Regions from separate parts of the Homo sapiens genome. Here all the other regions are linked to region 4. Evidence: promoter capture Hi-C in 16 types of primary human blood cells and fetal thymus (Javierre and others, 2016). All regions are on one chromosome and are shown on one strand. Each heading gives the region's core, a stretch centred on a gene start or on the middle of the fragment in contact. The rest is flanking DNA. Distances are from core to core; before and after follow the strand shown. Region 1 overlaps VPS13D (vacuolar protein sorting 13 homolog D). Region 2 overlaps TNFRSF8 (TNF receptor superfamily member 8). Region 3 overlaps VPS13D (vacuolar protein sorting 13 homolog D). Region 4 holds the start of DHRS3 (dehydrogenase/reductase 3). Region 5 overlaps VPS13D (vacuolar protein sorting 13 homolog D). Region 6 overlaps VPS13D (vacuolar protein sorting 13 homolog D). Region 7 overlaps VPS13D (vacuolar protein sorting 13 homolog D).

Region 1 (2,876 bases), core at 197-2,696, 280 kb before region 4:
CTTGTTCTCTGTTTTCCCAGGCTGTTGCTTCTGAGTCTCAAGGTCATTACTTAGGAGCCAGGGCTTTTCAGATATTGTCAGCTTTGATTTTAGCTCCTCCTCCAACCTTCCCAATTTGTGTGTCAAGAAAATGTAACATAGTCTACCCAGAAGACTCTAAATAATCTTTGTAATATGTCCAAGAGAGTGTGTTTCTAAAACATTATTCATGCAGGGGCATCTTCAATTCAGAGTCAAACTCTAGCAAGGCCTGGTCTGCAAGATTCTGATGAAAGATTTTCTTGTCCCTCTCTTTCTTCTTTCCTTCTTCCCTCCCTGCCTCCCTTTCTTCCTTCCTTTTTAAAATTTTTGTCCCTCTCTCTTTCTCTATAGTTAAAAGGCTTCCTCATCTATATTAAATGCTGGTGCTGAGTTAAAGCTTGATTTTTATTTATTTAAAGATTTTTATGATTACTTAGGCTTATAAAAGTGTAATCTATCTTTTTAATAAGACATAACTTGAATATGCATAAATTTCCAAACCTCTTTTCTTATTGGAAATTCCTGGATGGTAGTACAGTACATTCCAGGATTGTATTCTTTTAGCAGGCCTACTAAAATGATCATTGGGAATTTATTTTGAAAGTGAGTAGGGTTCAACCTTGTTGAACTAATCATAAACTTTCAGGTCTTATTCAAGAATAGTAAGTCATATTCCTACAAAAGTTATGCTTTTTATTCAGACTGGCCTTAAAACAAGCTCTTGGGAATAGCCCTTAACATGAAATTTAGCCTAAGGGACCTGCTGCTTTCTCACTGTTTCTTTATCAGGGGAAAGAAAATACCAGCCTCCTTTTGACAAAATTGTTGGCTTTGTTCAGTCAGGGCTGAGATTTTGCAGGTAAACCTGGGCGGTGTGGCACTTCATTGAATTTATTAGTTTTGTATTCCAAGGACATTTTATGAAAATATCAAATATTCTGAAAACTTCCATGCTTGATTTAGAATTTAAATAAACACTATGAGACAACTCCTTGGTAGAGATTGTTTAAATTTGGAACACATACTGACTCTTCCCCTGAATTTTTGAGATCCCCTGAGACTGGCATTTTACTTCTGTGTTTTACCAGTTGGAATGGAGCAACCTTCACTAAAATCTGTACTGATGGATTTTTGTAACTTTTTAATGCCATTTAAGAACATAACACCTTTAAATTAAAAATCTTCAAAAGGCTCGTCATTCTGTTCAAGAGAAGGTTCAATACATATTCTTCTAATTCAGGAAAAAAAAAAAAAAAGCATGTTACTTTGATCCAGCCTCCACAATAAAAACTAGCATAAAAATGTGTTCACTTTGTCAAGTACATTCGTAGTGCTTAGTAATCACTGATGGGAATGACTCTGTACTTGCATGATGCTTGCTATTTTTGTAATGTTCTCTATTTGTGCTTATCGTTTGGAAGCAAGTCTTCTTATTTCACTGTATTTATTCTTAGCCTCTAACTTTGTCTCTCCTGTCTACCAGGCCTCCCCCTTGTCTACCTTAGAACTAGGAGTACAGCCAGTCTGACTAACCTAGAGCACCAGATCTATGCTAGAGGTACAGTATAGCCAAGCGAGGGCTTGCTTTATTTTCCTGTTTTAAGAACTTCCTTGTACATCAATTTTTTTTTTAATGAGTGGGAGTTGAATTGGGGGTATTCCATGTCGTGAGTACTTTAGTAATAGGAAAGAACATTTCCAACTGATGAACAGAGTGGTGCATATTATCAGCTGATTCTTATATTGTTTCCCTTCCATCTCCCTTAACTTTGGTGGAAATGGAATAAACTCCACAGTGTATGATGCAGAAATATGTTAATACAATGTCAGTTAGAGGTGATTTCTCATATTGAAGAGCAAGTGGATTGAGGAGCACCATGCTTCATCAAGCAGTGGTGCCACAAGTCTTAAGTTTATAAAATACCCACTGAAAATTCTCATGGGAAGGCATGGGGCTCTGCAACAGGCACTATAATAATAGGGATAGCGGAAAAAAAATTCTCAGTAAATAATTGCTTAGACACAAACCTTAATTTCTTTGGATGTCAGTTTTTGTGTTTAGGAGATAAAAAAGAAAATTTTCTTTATTTCTATCTCTGATCTTTGAAAGTTTCTTGAGAAATTCACTGGTAAGTGAATGTGGTAGAAAACACCATAATCATTGAGGAATTGGAGTCCCAAGATGTTCAGTTTTTGTTTTAGGGAGTGCAGTTTAATCTGAATGATTTATGTGTGTACATGGCAAATTCCAGATTATTCGTCATGATTTTTTTAAATAGAAAGAGACCACAGGAACTCCCTCTACCAGGAATATAGAACAGGGATGTTAATACTCAGGGTACATTGCCCTGGGTTTTTTTTTTCTGGACAATTTTACCAGGGTGGATGTTTGAGGGAGGGCTCACAAAGAAAGCCCAGAGCTGAATCTTAATTTATTTGTGTATTCCTGCTTCTAAGCTTTCTATATGTTACTTAATCTTTCAGGCTTAGCCAAGCATTATTCCTATTTAGCTGATAAGGACAGTGAGGTTCAGAGACACTAGGTGATTTGCCTTTATTCACTTGACCTCCTAGTAGCAAACCTAGTATTTTAATCTGCTTCTTATGATTTACAAACCAGGTCCTTTCTGATGGACTGAGCTGCTTACATAGCATGACAACCTACACTGTTTATAATGGCAAAATTACTGTGTGAAACAAGTCCGAAGGGGTAGAAATTTCCTTAGCTGGAGCTGTTTGAAGCTGAACTTGGATACGGGTAGCTTTAGACTCTCTCTCAGCCCATGAAGAAATTGGGTTTGGTCACTAGGGGCAGATTTTCTGAGGCCATTAGGGAATAATGTTCTCTTTGATGG
Region 2 (2,700 bases), core at 143-2,642, 510 kb before region 4:
CCCCACCCCACAGGACGCCCATGGTACAACTGGGCTGGGGGTGTAAGCGGGATTCAGCCCATGGTGTCAGCACTTTGGGGTGCCTCTCTGCCAAGCCCCTCAGATCATTTGAGGCCCTAGGGTGTGCCCAGCCCTGCCCTGAGCACATGGGAGACCCACAGGGCTTAGAAAACACAGGCCTTGCTCCCAGGAGCTTACAGTGGGCCCGCCAGAGGCAGTGGGCCAAGGGCCTGGGACCCCATCTCTGTGGAAACTGTTACTCGTGAGCACAGGCCTCCCTTGCCCCATTGGCAGAATTATCAGTCCCATCTCTGGCTTCTTCCCCAGTGGCACCATCCCCCAGGCCAAGCCCACCCCGGTGTCCCCAGCAACCTCCAGTGCCAGCACCATGCCTGTAAGAGGGGGCACCCGCCTCGCCCAGGAAGCTGCTTCTAAACTGACGAGGGCTCCCGACTCTCCCTCCTCTGTGGGAAGGCCTAGTTCAGATCCAGGTAATTTCCCCATGAAGCTGTGGGTCGTCTCCCTGGGGTGCTCGATTGGTGGATGGCCCATGAGTGGGGGTGTTTGGAGCAGGCGGGCAGTGATCTGTGGTCTTTTCCTGGTGGGGAGAGAAGACGGTGGTAAGGTATGATCTAGGGCTGAAAGCATTGAGGGGCAGAGGTAGACACCAGAGGGCTCATTCATTTGCCAGCAGTGCAGAGGGCCTGCCTTGTGCCGGACACCCGTGCCCCATCTCTCCCTCTATTTCCCTCTACGTTGGTTTGTCAGAGGGAAATGGGTCCCACTCTGCTGTTGTGACACTTGCGACTCAGCTGGCCAGCCTCTGCACGTGTCCATCTGATGCCCTCCTGGTCTCCATGGCGAAGGGTCGACCCTCAGTCATTTTTCTTTTTCTTTTTTTTGAGACGGAGTTTCGCTCATGTTGCCCAGGCTGGAGTGCAGTGGCGCAATCTCGGCTCACTGCCACCTCCACCTCCTGGGTTCAAGCGATTCTCCTGCCTCAGCCTCCTGAGTAGCTGGGATTACAGGTGCCCACCACCACGCCTGGCTAACTTTGTATTTTTAGTAGAGATGGGATTTCACCATGTTGGTCAGGCTGGTCTCGAACTCCCGACCTCAGGTGATCCGCCCACCTCGGCCTCCCAAAGTGCTGGGAGGATTACAGGCGTGAGCCACCGCGCCCAACCTAGTCCCATTTTATTACTGAATAGCCCTCCATGGCGTAGATATGCCGAGCTCTGTTTATCCAGTTTTTGAATATTTGGGTTGTTTCTGCCTTTTGACTATAATGAAGAAAGAAAAATACATCTTTGCGTGTATGTGCTTTCCTTTCTCTTGGGTTGGTTTTGTAAAAAAAATGGATTTGTGGGACTTCTAACAATTTTGGGTTGGAGCTCTTTTCCTATAGTTGTACCTTCTCCCGCTCCATGGCTTTGCTTATTCTCTCTATGATGTCTTTTGTTTGTTTGTTTGTGGTTTGTTTTTTTGAGGTGAGTCTTGCTCTGTCGCCCAGACTGGAGTGCAGTGGCGTGATCTCGGCTCACTGCAACCTCCGCCTCCTGGGTTCAAGCAATTCTCCTGCCTCAGCCTCCCGAGTAGCTGGGATTACAGGCGCCTGCCACCACATTTGGCTACTTTTCTTTTTTTTAGTAGAGACGGGGTTTCACCATGTTGGCCAGGCTGGTCACAAACTCCTGGCCTCAAGTAATCCACCCGCCTCAGCCTCCCAAAGTGCTGGGATTACAGACGTGAGCCACCGCGCCCGGCCCACACCAGTCTTTAAAAGAGGGAGGCAGGAGGCACCCAGCCCCTCCCTGCCCAATACCATTCTGAACAGGAGTTACGCTAGTGTGCTGAGCTCTCAGGGAAGCTGTTCCCAAAGTTTTGAGCAGGGGAGTGACAGAGCCATGAGACAGGGTTGGGGGAAGCTGTGGCATGGTGGCCTCAGGAGGAACAGTGGGCAGGGGCTGGTTGGGGGGCAATGAGTACCCTCCTCTCGTGTGGAATGCACGCAGCATTCCTGTCCTCTCTGAGCCTCAGGACTCCCTCTGAAAGGCTGGACTGAGCTGACATGCGGAGTTTGGGAGCTGGCCACGGTGAGGGATGGGGGGCTTCAGGGTTGGGTGGGGAGTGAGGCCTTTGCCAAGGCGGCCTGGCCTGCAGCTTCTCTGCTTCTTTCCCCAGGTCTGTCCCCAACACAGCCATGCCCAGAGGGGTCTGGTGATTGCAGAAAGCAGTGTGAGCCCGACTACTACCTGGACGAGGCCGGCCGCTGCACGGCCTGCGTGAGCTGTTCTCGAGGTAAGGGCCTCGTCCCTCCCCGGGCCTCAGTTTACCTCTCTGCATTTTTGAACCGTGAACTTCCAGTAACTACTCCCCCTTATGTTTGTGGGTTTTTGATGGGGGTCGCCTCTTTTCAGAGGGCTTCCATTGGCATATTATTTCCTTCCAGGAAGCGTTTGTGAATCACCCACCTGTTCCAAACTCGGCTCATCAATGTTTGTAACTACTCTGTGATTCAAGCATTGTGATCATTCCCCTTTTACAGAGGAGGAAACGGAGGCTTTGGGAAGTCAGGGAACTTCCAAGGGCTGTGGGCTGGAGTTTGAACCCAGACAGGTGCCACCAGGTTCCAGGTTCTCGTCCACTCCACTCGCTGCCCCTATGAGCCACTTATTCTTTTTTTTTTTTTCCCAGACA
Region 3 (2,917 bases), core at 294-2,793, 350 kb before region 4:
CTCAGCACTTTGGGAGGCTGAGGCAGGCGGATCACTAGAGGTCAGGAGTTCAAGACCAGCCTAGCCAACATGGTGAAACCCTATCTCTACTAAAAATACAAAAATTAGCTGGGTGTGGTGGTGTGCACCTGTAATCCCAGCTACTCGGGAGGCAGGAGACTCGCTTGAACCTGGGAGGCGGAGGCTGCAGTGAGCCAAGATCATGCCACTGCACTCCAGCCTAGGAGACAGAGCGGGACTTTGTCTTAAAAAAGAAGAAGAAGAGAAAAAAAAGAATATAGAAGGCATTTCCTTTGAAATTCCATTTTCTCTTTCAGTGCTTTTTAAGAATTTTGAAATATAGTAGTTTGGAATCTTTCAGAAAATGGCTTAAGAAATTCTAGTAACTTAGGTACACTTCTCTCACTTGCCTCCTCTCCCCCCATGGCTGTCCATTCACTTACGCTTTTTTGTCTCATTCCTGTTACCCTGTATTATGCCAGGTCATACTGGAGTAAGAAACTGTTGTTACTGATTTGTTTTTTTCCTTGAGACAGGGTCTTGCTCTGTCACCCCAGGCTAGAGTGCAGTGGCGTGATCACGGCTCACTGCAGCCTCAGTCTCCTGGGCTCAGGCATCCTCCTGCCTTGGCCTCCCAAAGTGCTGGGATTACGAGTGTGAGCCACCATGCCCAGCCTGATTTTTTTTTTTTTAAGCTTTGATGGACATTCTTGGTGAGAATTGATGTAGCACTTTTGTTCACCCAGCCGTGTGAAAATTCTGACTCTGCTGTGTATTTCCAACCTTGCAGGTTTTGGTTATCAGTCTGAACTTGAGCTGAGAGTGGCTGAAGCTGCCCGAAGACAATATAACAAGCTGAAGATGCAGACCAAGGCAGAAATCCGGCAAACTCTTGATCGTTTGCTAGTGGGTGATTTCATTGTAAGTGGGCATCCATAAACACTCTTTGGGGATTGGGGAAGGGGCAGGAATTCTTTCCGTCAAGTCACTACTTACTGTAGATAGGCTTACTTATATCAATTATGCTGACTGAGTAAACTGAAAATATTAAATCCTTATCAGCTAGCATAGAATAGAATCTTGTGTCTTTTATAGTCAGGGTTTAGCTAATAAAATGAATGACTGTGACTAGATTCTGTGTCTCCTTGCACCAGGATGAGGTTACTTTCAAGACTCATCTTTGTGCTGGGTGCTATGGCTCACACCTGTAATCCCAGCACTTTGGGAGGCTGAGGTGGGCAGATCACTTGAGGTCAGGAGTTCGAGACCAGCCTGGCCAACATGGTGAAACCCCATCTCTACTAAAAATACAAGAATTAGCTGGGCATGGTGGTGGGTCCCTGTAATCCCAGCTGCTCAGGAGGCGGAGGCAGGAGAATCACTTGAACCTGGGAGGCGGAGGTTGCAGTGAGTCGAGATTGCACCACTGCACTCCAGCCTGGGCAACAGAGTGAGACTGTCTCAAAAAGAAGAAGAAAAAAAAAAGACTCGTGTTTGTTCCATTTTCCAGACCTGATACTTTGTGCATGTTTCATGTGAGAGTTTCTCTTTTTTGCTTACTGTTACCAGAAGAGACAACTGGAATGATGCCCCAGCTTCTATTCTAGGGTGTGATGATTAGGTACTTTGTGATGCCAAATGGCCAGCTGCCATGAGGATGCCATAGATAGGGAGGGCCAAGAGACATCTTCACAGTCCAGTAGGTAGGCTGGGCAAGGTGGCCCATGCCTATAATCCTGGCACTGGGGGAAGCGGAGGTGGGATGATCGTTTGAGCTCAGGAGTTCGAGACCAGCCTGGGCAACATAGTGAGACCTTGTCTCTACAAAAAATAAAAAAATTAGCTGGGCCTGGTAGCACATACCTGTAGTCCCAGCTGTTCAGGAGGCTGAGGCGGGAGGATTGCTTGAGCCCAGGAATTGGAGGGTGCAGTGAGCTATGATCTGCCCTCTAGCCTGGGTGACAGAGTGAGACCTTGTCTCAAGAAATCAAAATAGTCCAGTAAAGCACAGTTTCTCAGGTGACATGGAGGTGCACTGCTACAATACAGCAGCAGGTGGCACAGTGAGAAAAAGTGTGGCTTCTTTTGGACAGTGCAGAGTAAGTTATAGGTGTCAGAGAAGCAGAAATGATCCAAGTAAAATGTGGTGTGTAGTATGGGATGGAGAATTAGTCCTGTTTTTTGTTTTGGTGTGTGTGTGTGTGTGTGTGTGTGTGTGTGTGTGTGTTTCTACATAAAGTATGACAATTAGTATTCTTGTAAACAAAAGAGGTTTCTTTTTGGTAATGTAAATTAGCTTTTGCCACATACATACAGTTGAGGCTGATTTTGGTTGGAGGGAAGAACAATGAACAAATCATGAATTGGTGTGTTATTTATATTTCAAATGTCAAAGCTTATGTTTCTCACTAAGATATTTTGGCATGGAAGTTCATGGTTACCAATGCCCCTGAATAAGTAAAAATGTTTAGAATTCTATGTTTATTTGAATTCTATAATTTCTATAATCCTTTAAAGTATTAAACCCTGTAAATTAGAAACAAAATCTTTCTTAAGTACAGACTCTCCCCTATTTAGTTATTTGCTATTTTTTTTCTCCCCTGTTCAGATACTTGTCTGTGGTAATTTCTCAGATCCTCAAGCATTTACATCTACTTTTGTCTTAGACTTTTTGCTGTAATACATTAGATCACTGAGTCACTCCATAATCCTAGCTGCAGCTTCCAGAAATGCTTGAGCACCATGGATAAAGCTGTTGGGTTTCGGCAGTTATGGTTAATGACTGTTTTATTTGTACAGGAGGAGAGTAAACGATGGACCGTGCGGCTGGATATTTCTGCCCCTCAGGTGATATTTCCTGATGATTTCAAATTCAAGAATCCTGTGTTAGTTGTCGTGGATCTAGGAAGAATGCTTT
Region 4 (2,901 bases), core at 374-2,873:
ACACCTGGGCCTCTCAGTGTCGGTCCGGCCAGACTACTGCATACAAGACCGCTCTTCCCTTTTCAAACCCAAACCAAGTACCCTCTCTCGTGTCTTCAGAGCTGCAGCCGCCCAGGTTGGGGCTGGGTAGCGGGTTGCCAAGGAAAATACGAGGCGCCAGCTAGCAGGCGGCTCCCAGCTCTACCCAGGAGTGCGCACACCCTGCACTCACCAGGGTGGCGGCAAGAAAAAGGGGGGAAGGCGGGGGAGGGGGGCACAACACCTTCCTTTGGGAGGCAGGAATGTGGGAAATGGTGGGTCTCTTAGGTTTCAGGGTGGGGGTGAATAGCCAGTCAGCCAGCCACCGATCCCAAAGGAGCGGATCAACTCTGAACCTGCCAAAAAAGACAGTCCGGTGCCCGGGAAATTTACAAGGTGAAACCGACTAGCTCAGCACTCGTGGGTGGCGCGGAGAAGTGGGGTGGCCGGCGACTCTCAGCTCCCGGGCGCGGGATCCCGCAGCGGCAGCAGGTGGGCTTACCCCCGCCCCTGCGGCCCCCCACTCCCTGGAGTCGCAGTGCCTGGTACCTTTCTGGCGCCGCGCTCCGCGAACTCGCGGGCGAGCTGACGCCCGATGCCTCTCCCGCCGCCGGTGATGAGGACGTTCTCCCGCGACAGGTCCCGCAGCTTGGCGGGCAGCACCAGTCCGACGGCTGCTTTCACCACCAGATAGATCATCTGTAGAGGGAACATCACCAGCGCGCCCAGCCGTTTCCACACCATCCTCCGCGCCGCGGAGCCGGGCAGGGGGCGAAACTCCCCGGGCCGAGCAATACAGGAATTAAAAAACACCCCGAACAATAAATAGTAAACCGAATAAGGAGGAGAGAGGCGTCCCACCTGGCCACTCTTGAAATCACCTCTTCCCAAATGCAAAGCACCGGGTGAGAAAAAGAAAAAAAAAAAAAAAAAAAAGATAAATTCTCCTCTGGGGGAGAAAAAGCGTCTCCTAAGGTTGGGACGGTAAAAGAGGTGGAGGGGGAAGCCGGAGGTGGAAAGTTCTAACAAGAAGTTTCTTGCCCCAGCAGCCGTTTCGGCTGGGGAATTCTCAGGTAATGTTTACAGACTGACAGAGGAGTTTAGGGAGGGGAAGAAAAAAAAAAAAAGGCACCAACCACACGCGCGCACCCTGCCTCGGTCCCGCGGTTTCAAAGTGCAAGATTAAAAAAAAAAAAAAAAAAAAAAAAAAAGCTGATTCCAAATTGTAGCGCCCCCACCCCCACCCCGTCTCCAGAAAAAAAAAAAAAAAAAAAGTGGGGGGAAAAAGTGCTTGGAGCTCCCAATTTCAGCCCGCGAAAGTCTCCCGACTCATTGCTATTCTTGGGCTCAGGAAATTGCTTAAACGCGATCTGATTGCCAGCAACGTGCAGGAGAAGTGGGGGGTCCGGGTGTCAGTTTCTTTACGTGCAGCGCTCGCCCTCGCGCGCGCTCGCTCGCTCCGGCTCCCTCCCTCCCTCTCTGTTCCAGCAGAGGCTGGGAGTTGCCGCTCGATCCAGCTCCCCTTCTCTCCCTTTTTAGCATTTATTGCCTTCTTTTTGTCCTTTCCAACTTGGAGAGGGTCCGGGTGTGGAGCGCGCGTGGATCGGACGCCTTGGTCTGCGCGGCCCTATTCATTCGCTCCCCGGGCAGCCGCGTCGCGGAGAGGGCGGCCCCTTTTTCCCCCATTTTTTCAATACCCCATTAAGTCTGATTGACAGTTAAAGTTGTTGGGAGGCTTCACTACCGTTCCTCTGAGTGGCTGCTGCGGCCTCCCCTCCCCCTGCGCCGTCGCGGGGAGCGCGCATAAGGCGCGCACTCGGGCTCGCCGGGACTCGCGCTCTCCCGGGACTGGCTCCCCTCTCTGCAAGCCGGGACTTGCCGCCGGTGTCCCTGAGGGCTCGCAGCTGTAACTCGAACACGCTGGAACCGACTCCGGCGAGCCGGCTGCCTTCTCGAGACGTTCCTCCTTGCCCGGGCCGCCCGCGGGCCAGGTGATCACCCCGAGTGTGGAGCAGGCCCGGGGGAGCTTGCGTATGCCTTGATCCAACCAGGTCACCCAGGGTTTTATTTCAGGTCATTTGGTCATCCTCGGCCTCCAGGTAGGATCAGGAAGCCACTCCTCACCTTTGCCCGGACCTCTTCTGTGTTCACGTAGAGTGGACTTTTAAAAGCCTGACCCAAGTGCCTCACGATGCTTAGGGGGAAGCCGCTGGGGAGCAGGACTTTGCTTTGAGGGGAGGGAGTAGTCAAGGTAAAGGAACCTCTGCTCCGAGTGCCAATAAAATCCCCACAAGATTAGCTGGGAGCATATTTATTGCTCATCTGAGCTAGAATTACCTTGACTGACACCAATTTCCTTAATAACAAAAGCCTGTAAACAAAACGTCCTATTCGTGCGCCCCTGTGCTGTGCAGCCAGCGTCTCCTGTCCTTGGGTCTCCCTGGACTGCCCTGGCGGGGCACCCACCTTCTAACCTCCTGCCCTTCCCGACCGGAATGTCTCCCCTGCTGGAGGGTGGGACCGAGCTATTTAGAGTTGTCTGTTGCAGGAAGTCTGGGAGGTGAGTCACTAAAAAGCAGCCCCAGTTCAAAGTGCTGATGGGACTTGCCTCCCGCCCCCCTGCACGTTCCCGGGGCCGGAGGAGCGAGAGCGAAGCAGGGAGCTGCCCTGTAATCTGGGGCAGCCGTTTCCAGCCCGCGACTTGTTCAGACGGCGATTCCTGGGCCTCACCCCCAGAGATTCTGATTCAGCAGGGCTGGGTGCGCTGGGATCGGTACTTTCAATGCTCCGCCTGGTGAGAAAGTCACTTCGAAAAACGCTGATCTGCGGGGAGGGGAGGCTGGGATTACCTCGTCACCTGCAAAGACCTAGTTCTGGGGAGAG
Region 5 (2,700 bases), core at 134-2,633, 380 kb before region 4:
CTTTGCTGTGGGAGCTGTCTTGTGTGTTGTAGGTTTAGCAGCTTCCGTGGTCTTTATTCACAAGATGCCAGTAGCAGCCCCTAAGTCATGATAAAAAATGCCTCCAGAGATTACTAAATTATGCCCATAGGAGAACCTCTGATCACGGCAGTCTAATCCCAAGGTAAATCAACATAAGCAAGCAATGGACAGTTACACTGAAAAGATAGACAGCTTTGAATTGTAGGTAATTTTTGGTAAATTTAAGAGTGACTATTCCCTGAAGCAGCATCAGAATGTAGGTGTTTTGGTTTGGCCCTCCAGTTACTGATGGGGACATCTTACAGAGCTTCTTGCCTCATCTTTTAAAACATCTGCAGCCGGGCGCAGTGGCTCATGCCTGTAATCCCAGCACTTTGGGTGGCTGAGGCGGGTGGATCACCTGAGGTCAGGAGTTTGGGACAGGCTGGTCAACATGGTGAAACCCCATCTCTACTAAAAATACAAAAAATCAGCTGGGTGTGGTGGTGGGCAGCTGTCATCCCAGCTACTTGGGAGGCTGAGGCAGGAGAATCGCTTGAACCCGGGAGGCAGAGATTGCAGTGAGCCGAGATTGTGCCACTGCACCCCAGCCTGGGTGACGAGAGCGAAACTGTCTCAAAACAAAAACAAAAACACAAACAAACAAAACCCAACAAAACATCTGTGCTTTGCATTCATCTACCTTCAGGCAGGTAGAGGAGGAAATTGGCTTAGAAAATCATCCTGTTTTTATGTTGATTTTCATTATTTTCCTTTCATAGATTTTTCTGTGACCATGAAAGAGAGAAATAAAGAATGATCCATGATTTCTAAACACCTTTTCCTGAGGATATAGTCATGTTGGAAGGCCTTGTAGCCTGGGTTCTCAATACCTATTTGGGAAAATATGTCAATAACCTGAACACTGACCAGCTCTCAGTTGCACTTCTCAAAGGTGAGTATTTCTCTGGGTGAGATACAGCTTTATAGGTGGCGTTTCTATTTTTGTATTTTTTTTGTTGTCCTGAGAATCATAAAACCTAATGCCCAGATGGCTTTGTACTAAATGTATGTAAAAAGGTCCCATATCATCCTGATGATTTTTCCAGAGTAACTTAAGTTTATAGCTATATTGTTGTAGATTTTAAGGAACTATTAAATATTAAAAAACAAAAACAAAATAAGCTACACTACTGGTGACTGTGCTTAGTCCCAGTTAACTTTTAGCTTTATGAAGCTTTATGGAGGCAGCCACAATGTACCGACAGTGGCATTGACTTTGGCTTCAAATACTGTTTTGTCACTTATTAGCTATGTGAACAATAGCTCATATTGAAATTCCAAGCCTCAGTTTCTTAGACAGAGATAATATACCTCCAGAGGGTTGCTTTAAGGATCAACTGGAATAACATTTAAAGCCCCTAGCCTGCTGGCATATAGTAAGCACTCAATAAAAGTTTTAAAATTGATTATTGTGAGGTGTTCAACAGAATTTCTGAGGTTTTGACTTGCTTAGTAGTAGAGTACCTGAAGCTTCAGACATTTTACCCTTTACAGGCCTAGACTTGGTAAATGCAGTCCCTGATTTGGCATGGGAATTCGAAAACTGCATTTTCTCCCTTTCCTTGTTTTAATTTAAATTCTCTTTGCTCAGCTCAAAATGGAGCTTTTTAACATACGTAGGGAAGAGAAGAAAGTCAGTTTGCCACGTGTGTAAAATCATAGGAAATGGGAAGGAGACTTCAAATACAGTGAAACCTCACCTTTGTGGATGTGAGTTTTGGTAAGTGGACCAGAGCAGGTTAGAGAGAACAGTGACACAGCTGTTTGCGTAGTCTGAGAATAGAGTACCGGTGGTTCACATGTTCCATTAAATGTGTTGCTTTCCGGCCAGGCGCGGTGGCTCATGCCTGTAATCCCAGTACTTTGGGAAGCTAAGGCAGGCGGATCACGAGGTCAGGAGTTTGAGACCAGCCTGGCCAACATGGTGAAACCTGTCTCTACTAAAAATACAAAAATTAGCTGGGTGTGGTGGCGGGTGCCTGTAATCCCACTACTCGGGAGGCTGAGGCAGGAGAATCGCTTGAAACCAGAAGGCGGAGGTTGCAGTGAGCCGAGGTCACACCACTGCACTCCAGCCTGGGCAACAAGAGTGAAACTCCATCGCAAAAAATAAAAAATAAAAAAAAAGTGTTGCTTTTCATGTTTTTCTGACCAAATGATTGTGGCAGCGCTAGGCCATGGGCAGAGCCGTCATGGTCACGCCTCCCCACTCTCTTCCTTTCCTTTCCTATTCTCCTGGTTTTCCTCTTGTCCTGAAACGGGAGCTAAGTGGAAAGTGCGAGTGAGCAGTCTGTCAGGGAAGAGGATGCATTCAAAGTGCAATAGTAGTGTCAAGTTCACCTCTCTGGTCTCTTATTGAAGTTCTCAGACCCACTGTGAAGCTAACTACGTTGTATGACGTATAGATAACAGGGCCTAGAAAGAGAGCTGCAGACCACGACCCTGCTAATCAAAGAGCTGGTTCTGTCAGGAATCATGTGGCAAGAGCATTTGCCAAAGAAATGAGTAAATAGAAATGGATATCTGATGTGTTACAGAGTCGTACTAACATTTCTCAGCAGTTTTAGAATGTATCTTGTAACAACTGTGTTTATCTGGTACTTTAAACTGCTTTTCTGCCCTTATTTCCTTTCTAAA
Region 6 (2,700 bases), core at 79-2,578, 310 kb before region 4:
ATCTGAATAACTGTCTATGATAAGTAGAATCTTAACGTGGAAATCAGTGCTATTAAGATAAGTTTGGAAGAACTAGTTATTCACTTATTTCTTCGTCTATTTAACAAATGTTTATTGAGTCCCTACTATGTGCTGAACATGAGGGCTACTGTGATGAAAGAGAAAACTAATTCCTTTGAAGGAACTTATGTTTTGTTGAGGGATACAGGTAGTTAAGCACATGATTCTAATTTAATGTTTGATTTGATCTTTTTTTTCTTTTTTTTTTTTTTTTTGAGATGGAGTCTCACTCTGTCACCAGGCTGGAGTATAGTGGCGAGATCTCAGCTCACTGCAACCTCCACCTCCCGGGTTCAAGCGATTCTCCTTCCTCAGCCTCCCAAGTAGCTGAGATTACAGGCGCATGCCACCACACCCAGCTAATTTTTGTGTTTTTAGTAGAGATGGGGTTTCACCATGTTGGCCAGGATGGTCTCGATCTCTTGACCTCGTGATCCACCTGCCTTGGCATGCCCGCCTTGGCATATGGACATGGTGGCTCATGCCTGTAATCCCAGCACTTTGGGAGGTCGAGGCGGCAGATCACAAGTTCAGGAGTTCAAGACCAGCCTGGCCAACATGGTGAAACCCCGTCTCTACTAAAAAAAAAATACAAAAATTAGCCAGGCATGGTGGCGTGTGCCTGTAATCCCAGCTACCGGGAAGGCTGAGGCAGGAGAATTGATTATACCAGGGAGGTGGAGGTTGCAGTGAGCCTAGATTGAGCCGCTGCACTTCAGCCTGGGTGACAGAGCAAGACTCAGTCTCAAAAAAAAAAAAAAAAAGAAAGAAAGAAAAACAGGTTTATTATTTGTATAGAGCATGATTTGAATCTCTTTTTGGCCACTCCCTTCACAGTTCTTGGTTTGGGCAAGTCATTTAATGTCACTTTTTTAGTTTCTTTCTGGATTAATGATACAACTTAGCTGTTCTCACTGGGATGTTTGTGTTTCAGTCTTACGTGTTATTCAAGTGCTCCCTGGCTGGTGTTCAGTTATGGTTGGCATGGGCTATATTTGGTTTTACTGGCTAAGCAGTCTTAAGAGGAGCTTCGTTATTTAGAAATTGAACACTTTGTTTTCTTTTCAAGCAATGCTTTCCAAAAAACAAAAAAAAAGCTTTCCTATTCAGCTTATCTAAACTTTCCCCACTCCCATCAGTGTTTCTGTGCAGATAATTGTATTCTGTTAGGCCTGATAGAAGGTGATGCTGAATGCAAGGTGTCCTGTCAGTCTCACACTGCACACACAGCAACCCGAGATGGCACTTGGTCAGCCGTCTCTGTTTTTCTTTGTTATTGCATCATTGTCTTTTAAAACTCTGTTGTATGTCGGCTTTTCTCTGCAGACAAAATAACTTTTCTTATATACCTCTGCCATTTCAAACACTAGCCCTCTCTATACTTAGAGCATAGTGTCTGTAGGATTCACAATGCCCAGTTCACCCATGGGAGGTTAGAGAAAGCTTTTTAGTATTGAGATGAGGTACAGATGTGTGCCCCTCCCCCTCTTCAACTTTACTTCTGTCCATCCCAGCTGAGATGACGAACCTATTCAGAGTTTATCCTCATGTCCCATCTGGGCTCAGTATGAAACACTGGTGTTTGCCTTTAGTTACCACTAAATCCAAAGAGTTAAATAAAGATCTTGGCATCTTTTCTTTATTGCTTTCCCAAGTGTAATATTTAAGCTCTTTGTGAGTCTCATGAGGTTTTCCTTATTAATAGATTAGTTACCTCATACTAGGTTTAAGGATTTCCCTCCCTCCATTTCTTGCTCCTTCCTTCCTTCCTTCCTTCCTTCCCTCCCTCCCTCCCTCCCTCCCTCCTTCCCTCCTTCCTTCCTTCCCTCCTTCCCTCCTTCCTTCCTTCCCTCCTTCCCTCCTTCCCTCCTTCCCTCCTTCCCTCCTTCCCTCCTTCCCTCCCTCTCTCCCTCTCTCCCTCCCACAGGGTCTCACTCTGTCACACAGGCTGGAATACAGTGGCACGATCACAGCTTACTGCACCCTTGACTTCCTGGGCTCAAGTGAACCCCCACCTCAGCCTCCTGAGTAGCTGGGACCACAAGTGCACACCACCATGCCCAGTTAATTTTTGCATTTTTTGTAGAGATGGGGTTTCACTATGTTGTCCAGGCTGGTCTCGAACTCCTGGGCTCAAGTGATCCTCCCACCTCAGCCTCCCAAAGTGCTGGGATTATAGGTGTGAGCCACCACACCTGGCCTGGTTTGAGGATTTTCTAAATGTAAATTTTGGGAGAAAAGGGGCTTTTTGTAGTTGAAGCATGACAGTCATATTAACTTGCTTCATTTGGAGCTACATGAAATTTTTGTCATTGGAAGTAGGAATTACCTACTTGATAATGTAGGTGAGTACATTTTAGCCCCGTTGTTTGGGCGTGAGCTATGTCAGTGTTAAGTTAGTGACTTGTCTGTGTAAGTGATCTTTTTTCTTTTTCATAGAGAAATAAGTCATACTGTGCCAGACATATCTATCCATGGCAATCTCTCCTCAGTCCACTGCTCTCTGGATCTGTATAAATACAAGCTGATCCGCGGCTTATTAGAGAACAACCTGGGAGAACCCATAGAGGAATTTATGCGGCCTTATGATTTACAAGATCCAAGAATTCATGTGAGTGAGACCTTATGTTCTTCTGTCAC
Region 7 (2,737 bases), core at 231-2,730, 260 kb before region 4:
TTTGCCGTATATTCCCACAAGGGAATTTGTGGAATCTCCTGCTTGAATATTTTGAAGAATAGGATAGATAACCAACTCCCTATCAGGAAAGTTTAAAGCATAGTCCAAACTGAAAAGCCAGGGACAGGCTTGCCAGGTAGCCTCACATGGATCTCCAAAAAGAACGATTTTGTGCCTGTTGATCTTATCAACTTATTGATTTATCAGGGGTTTCCCAGGGCAATATAAGATGTGAAGGGGGAAAGAAGCCCACCTTTTTCCAAAGATTGAGTGTCTGTATTGTTCAGAGTACCCTAGACTCTTTTTATAATATTAAATTAGATACATCTTTTGTAGTTAGACTTTTTATTAGATATCACCTAACTATGATAATGTTGATTTCTGACAATGAAAGCTTCTCTGCATGTCACAGAAAGAAGTGATAGGGTATAGTTCCATATCCCAATATTACATAGCATTTCTTAGATACAGAGTTTTAGAGAGATTTTTGTGTGTGACTTTTCTCAGTCTTTCAGGTATTTTCAAGGCTTGTGTTAAAGGAACATCAGCATTTTCAAGCCAGTTTAAGTGAATTACGGCATTTACAGATTGGAATATTTATAATTGGGATTGTGTTGAGAAATCTATGACAGCCGGTTGTCAAATGCTAAGGTGGAGTTTTCTATTTTAATGGTTCTCTTGATACTTGATGACTGCTGAATGGAGTGCAGTCCTTGTATATGTCGCATCACAATACAAGCAAGCCTGATGAGGGTGCTGCTCCGGAGGCTGACTGCCTGGACTTGAATCCCAGTTATGGCACATACTAGCTGCGTGACATAGAGTCAGTTACTTAGCTTTCCATGCCTTCGTTTCCTCATCTATAAAATGGAAATAATTAAAATATCTAACTTAGAAGGTTGTTATGGGGATTCAGTGTAAAGCCTTTGGGGGAGGACCTAGCATGTATTAAGAGACCAGTAATTATTATTATTGTTGTTGTTGTTGTTATTTTTATTATTTCTATGATAAATATTTTTATCAATGGGTGACCAGAGCTCAGCCCAGTACGTTGAATGTCATTGCTGTATTTATTGTCTGAATGAATGAGTGAATAAATTCATCCCACTGAATTTTTTATTTTTATTTTTATTTATTTATTTATTTATTTATTTATTTATTTTTTTTTTGAGACGGAGTCTCGCTCTGTCGCCCAGGCTGGAGTGCAGTGGCGGGATCTCGGCTCACTGCAAGCTCCGCCTCCCGGGTCCACGCCATTCTCCTGCCTCAGCCTCCCAAGTAGCTGGGACTACAGGCGCCCGCCACTACGCCCGGCTAATTTTTTGTATTTTTAGTAGAGACGGGGTTTCACCGTTTTAGCCGGGATGGTCTCGATCTCCTGACCTCGTGATCCGCCCGCCTCGGCCTCCCAAAGTGCTGGGATTACAGGCGTGAGCCACCACGCCCGGCCTGAATTTTTTATTTTTAAAAATTGTTATCAGAGTTTTTAAGATATTTCAGTGCTTTTCTATATTTGGAACCGGCTGTCTTGAGATTTCCTTTGGACTGTTTTCTTATTTTTTCCTAATACATAGTAGGCGCTGAAAACAGTAATTTTATAGATGAATAAATTCTTTTATTTATTTATTTTTTGAGACGGAGTCTCACACTGTCACCCAGACTAGAGTGTAATGGTGCAATCTTGGCTCATTGCAACCTCTGCCTCCCAAGTTCAAGCAATTCTCTTTCTTGCCTCAGCCTCCCGAGTAGCTGAGACTACAGGTGCGTGCCACCATGCCCAGCTAATTTTTGTATTTTTAGTAGAGATGGGGTTTCGCCATGTTGGCCAGGCTGGTCTTGAACTCCTGACCTCAAATGATCCACCCATCTCGGCCTCCCAAAGTGCTGGGATTACAGGCATGAGCCACCACACCCGGCCATGAATAAGTTCTATAGTACTTAGCATTATGTTTGAGCTGGATTCTTGGGCAATGGGCTAAAATAAAATACTGGAGAAGAGTCAGTAAAGTTTAGAACATTACAGAATCCAAGAAAGTAATCTGAAATTTCCACTGTATCTGTAAAAGTGGCAGGTTCTCTAGAAGGAAATTTTGTGTCCCAGGTGTAAGCCAAAAAGTATCATGTGAAACTGTTGTAAGTATTCAGCTTCATAAATGGAAACCTAACATATATGTGACTGGACACCTGTGTATTTTAGTTGCTGTTAAATGGTACACACTGTGTGAAGAAACTAGGAATTAAGGGGATGTTGATCTTGCCTCTGAACCTTTTTAAGGCCTAAATGGGAATAAGGAGTAATAATACTTTGAGTACAATTGCTGTTTTCATTACATTCCTAGAAGGTTCAATATCCTCTGGGTGATACAGTTATTTTCTCAGAGAAACTAAGTAACTGTGAAGGTTATTTATTTTTGTCAGACCAAGAGTTTTCTCTCTTCATGGTTAACTCATAAAAGTGGTTCTTGTTATTTGTAGGTATTGATGTCAAGAAAGGCCGAGGTCGATACATTGATACCTGCATGGTCATCTTTGCCCCCCGTTACCTGTTAGATAATAAATCATCTCACAAGCTTGCATTTGCACAGAGGGAATTTGCCAGGGGACAGGTGAGCAGTTTGCTTTTGAAGGATGAGAGTGCCTATTTAATAGCACGAGTTTTAATGTCATCTTCTGTGAAGACTGTACGTTCTGTGATGCAAGTAACTGCTCTGTGCCTTTGGTACCCAGATAGCTCCTG

Evidence for each region. The method cuts DNA at HindIII sites, captures the fragments that hold promoters and counts their contacts. A CHiCAGO score of 5 or more calls a contact.
Region 1: a fragment that was not itself captured here is called in contact with the fragment with the promoter of DHRS3 in region 4 in 16 of 17 cell types (activated CD4 T cells, non-activated CD4 T cells, naive CD4 T cells and 13 more); the score reaches 22.3 in activated CD4 T cells.
Region 2: a fragment that was not itself captured here is called in contact with the fragment with the promoter of DHRS3 in region 4 in 1 of 17 cell types (fetal thymus); the score reaches 5.1 in fetal thymus.
Region 3: a fragment that was not itself captured here is called in contact with the fragment with the promoter of DHRS3 in region 4 in 10 of 17 cell types (fetal thymus, naive B cells, naive CD4 T cells and 7 more); the score reaches 11.1 in fetal thymus.
Region 5: a fragment that was not itself captured here is called in contact with the fragment with the promoter of DHRS3 in region 4 in 1 of 17 cell types (fetal thymus); the score reaches 6.3 in fetal thymus.
Region 6: a contact is called between a fragment that was not itself captured here and the fragment with the promoter of DHRS3 in region 4, in 16 of 17 cell types (fetal thymus, activated CD4 T cells, total B cells and 13 more). The highest score is 23.0, in fetal thymus.
Region 7: a fragment that was not itself captured here is called in contact with the fragment with the promoter of DHRS3 in region 4 in 13 of 17 cell types (total CD4 T cells, endothelial precursors, non-activated CD4 T cells and 10 more); the score reaches 10.4 in total CD4 T cells.

What each region holds. Positions count from the first base shown.
Region 1 is chr1:12,336,727-12,339,602 of GRCh38, forward strand. VPS13D (vacuolar protein sorting 13 homolog D) reads left to right here. Exons shown (of 70, transcript NM_015378.4): 40 at 1,505-1,579. Among named protein-coding and RNA genes, the nearest start is that of VPS13D, 110 kb to the left of the region's middle. The HindIII fragment of the contact is 2,060 bases long and covers 417-2,476 here.
Region 2 is chr1:12,109,714-12,112,413 of GRCh38, forward strand. It overlaps TNFRSF8 (TNF receptor superfamily member 8), which reads left to right. Exons shown (of 15, transcript NM_001243.5): 6 at 328-491; 7 at 2,185-2,301. Among named protein-coding and RNA genes, the nearest start is that of TNFRSF8, 48 kb to the left of the region's middle. The HindIII fragment of the contact is 4,166 bases long and covers 1-2,700 here.
Region 3 is chr1:12,270,204-12,273,120 of GRCh38, forward strand. VPS13D (vacuolar protein sorting 13 homolog D) reads left to right here. Exons shown (of 70, transcript NM_015378.4): 17 at 791-921; 18 at 2,800-2,917. Among named protein-coding and RNA genes, the nearest start is that of VPS13D, 42 kb to the left of the region's middle. The HindIII fragment of the contact is 1,700 bases long and covers 694-2,393 here.
Region 4 is chr1:12,616,587-12,619,487 of GRCh38, forward strand. It overlaps DHRS3 (dehydrogenase/reductase 3), which reads right to left and starts at 1,624. Exons shown (of 6, transcript NM_004753.7): 1 at 568-1,624. The coding sequence starts at 762. RefSeq lists enhancers at 1,249-1,880, 1,881-2,512, 2,513-2,901. The HindIII fragment of the contact is 18,116 bases long and covers 1-2,901 here.
Region 5 is chr1:12,233,409-12,236,108 of GRCh38, forward strand. VPS13D (vacuolar protein sorting 13 homolog D) reads left to right here. Exons shown (of 70, transcript NM_015378.4): 2 at 783-955. The coding sequence starts at 859. Among named protein-coding and RNA genes, the nearest start is that of VPS13D, 4.7 kb to the left of the region's middle. The HindIII fragment of the contact is 296 bases long and covers 1,236-1,531 here.
Region 6 is chr1:12,308,955-12,311,654 of GRCh38, forward strand. It overlaps VPS13D (vacuolar protein sorting 13 homolog D), which reads left to right. Exons shown (of 70, transcript NM_015378.4): 28 at 2,500-2,671. Among named protein-coding and RNA genes, the nearest start is that of VPS13D, 80 kb to the left of the region's middle. The HindIII fragment of the contact is 346 bases long and covers 1,156-1,501 here.
Region 7 is chr1:12,360,245-12,362,981 of GRCh38, forward strand. VPS13D (vacuolar protein sorting 13 homolog D) reads left to right here. Exons shown (of 70, transcript NM_015378.4): 51 at 2,476-2,606. The region is part of intron 1 of LOC124903845 (a long non-coding RNA gene); the gene reads right to left. Among named protein-coding and RNA genes, the nearest start is that of VPS13D, 130 kb to the left of the region's middle. The HindIII fragment of the contact is 2,176 bases long and covers 393-2,568 here.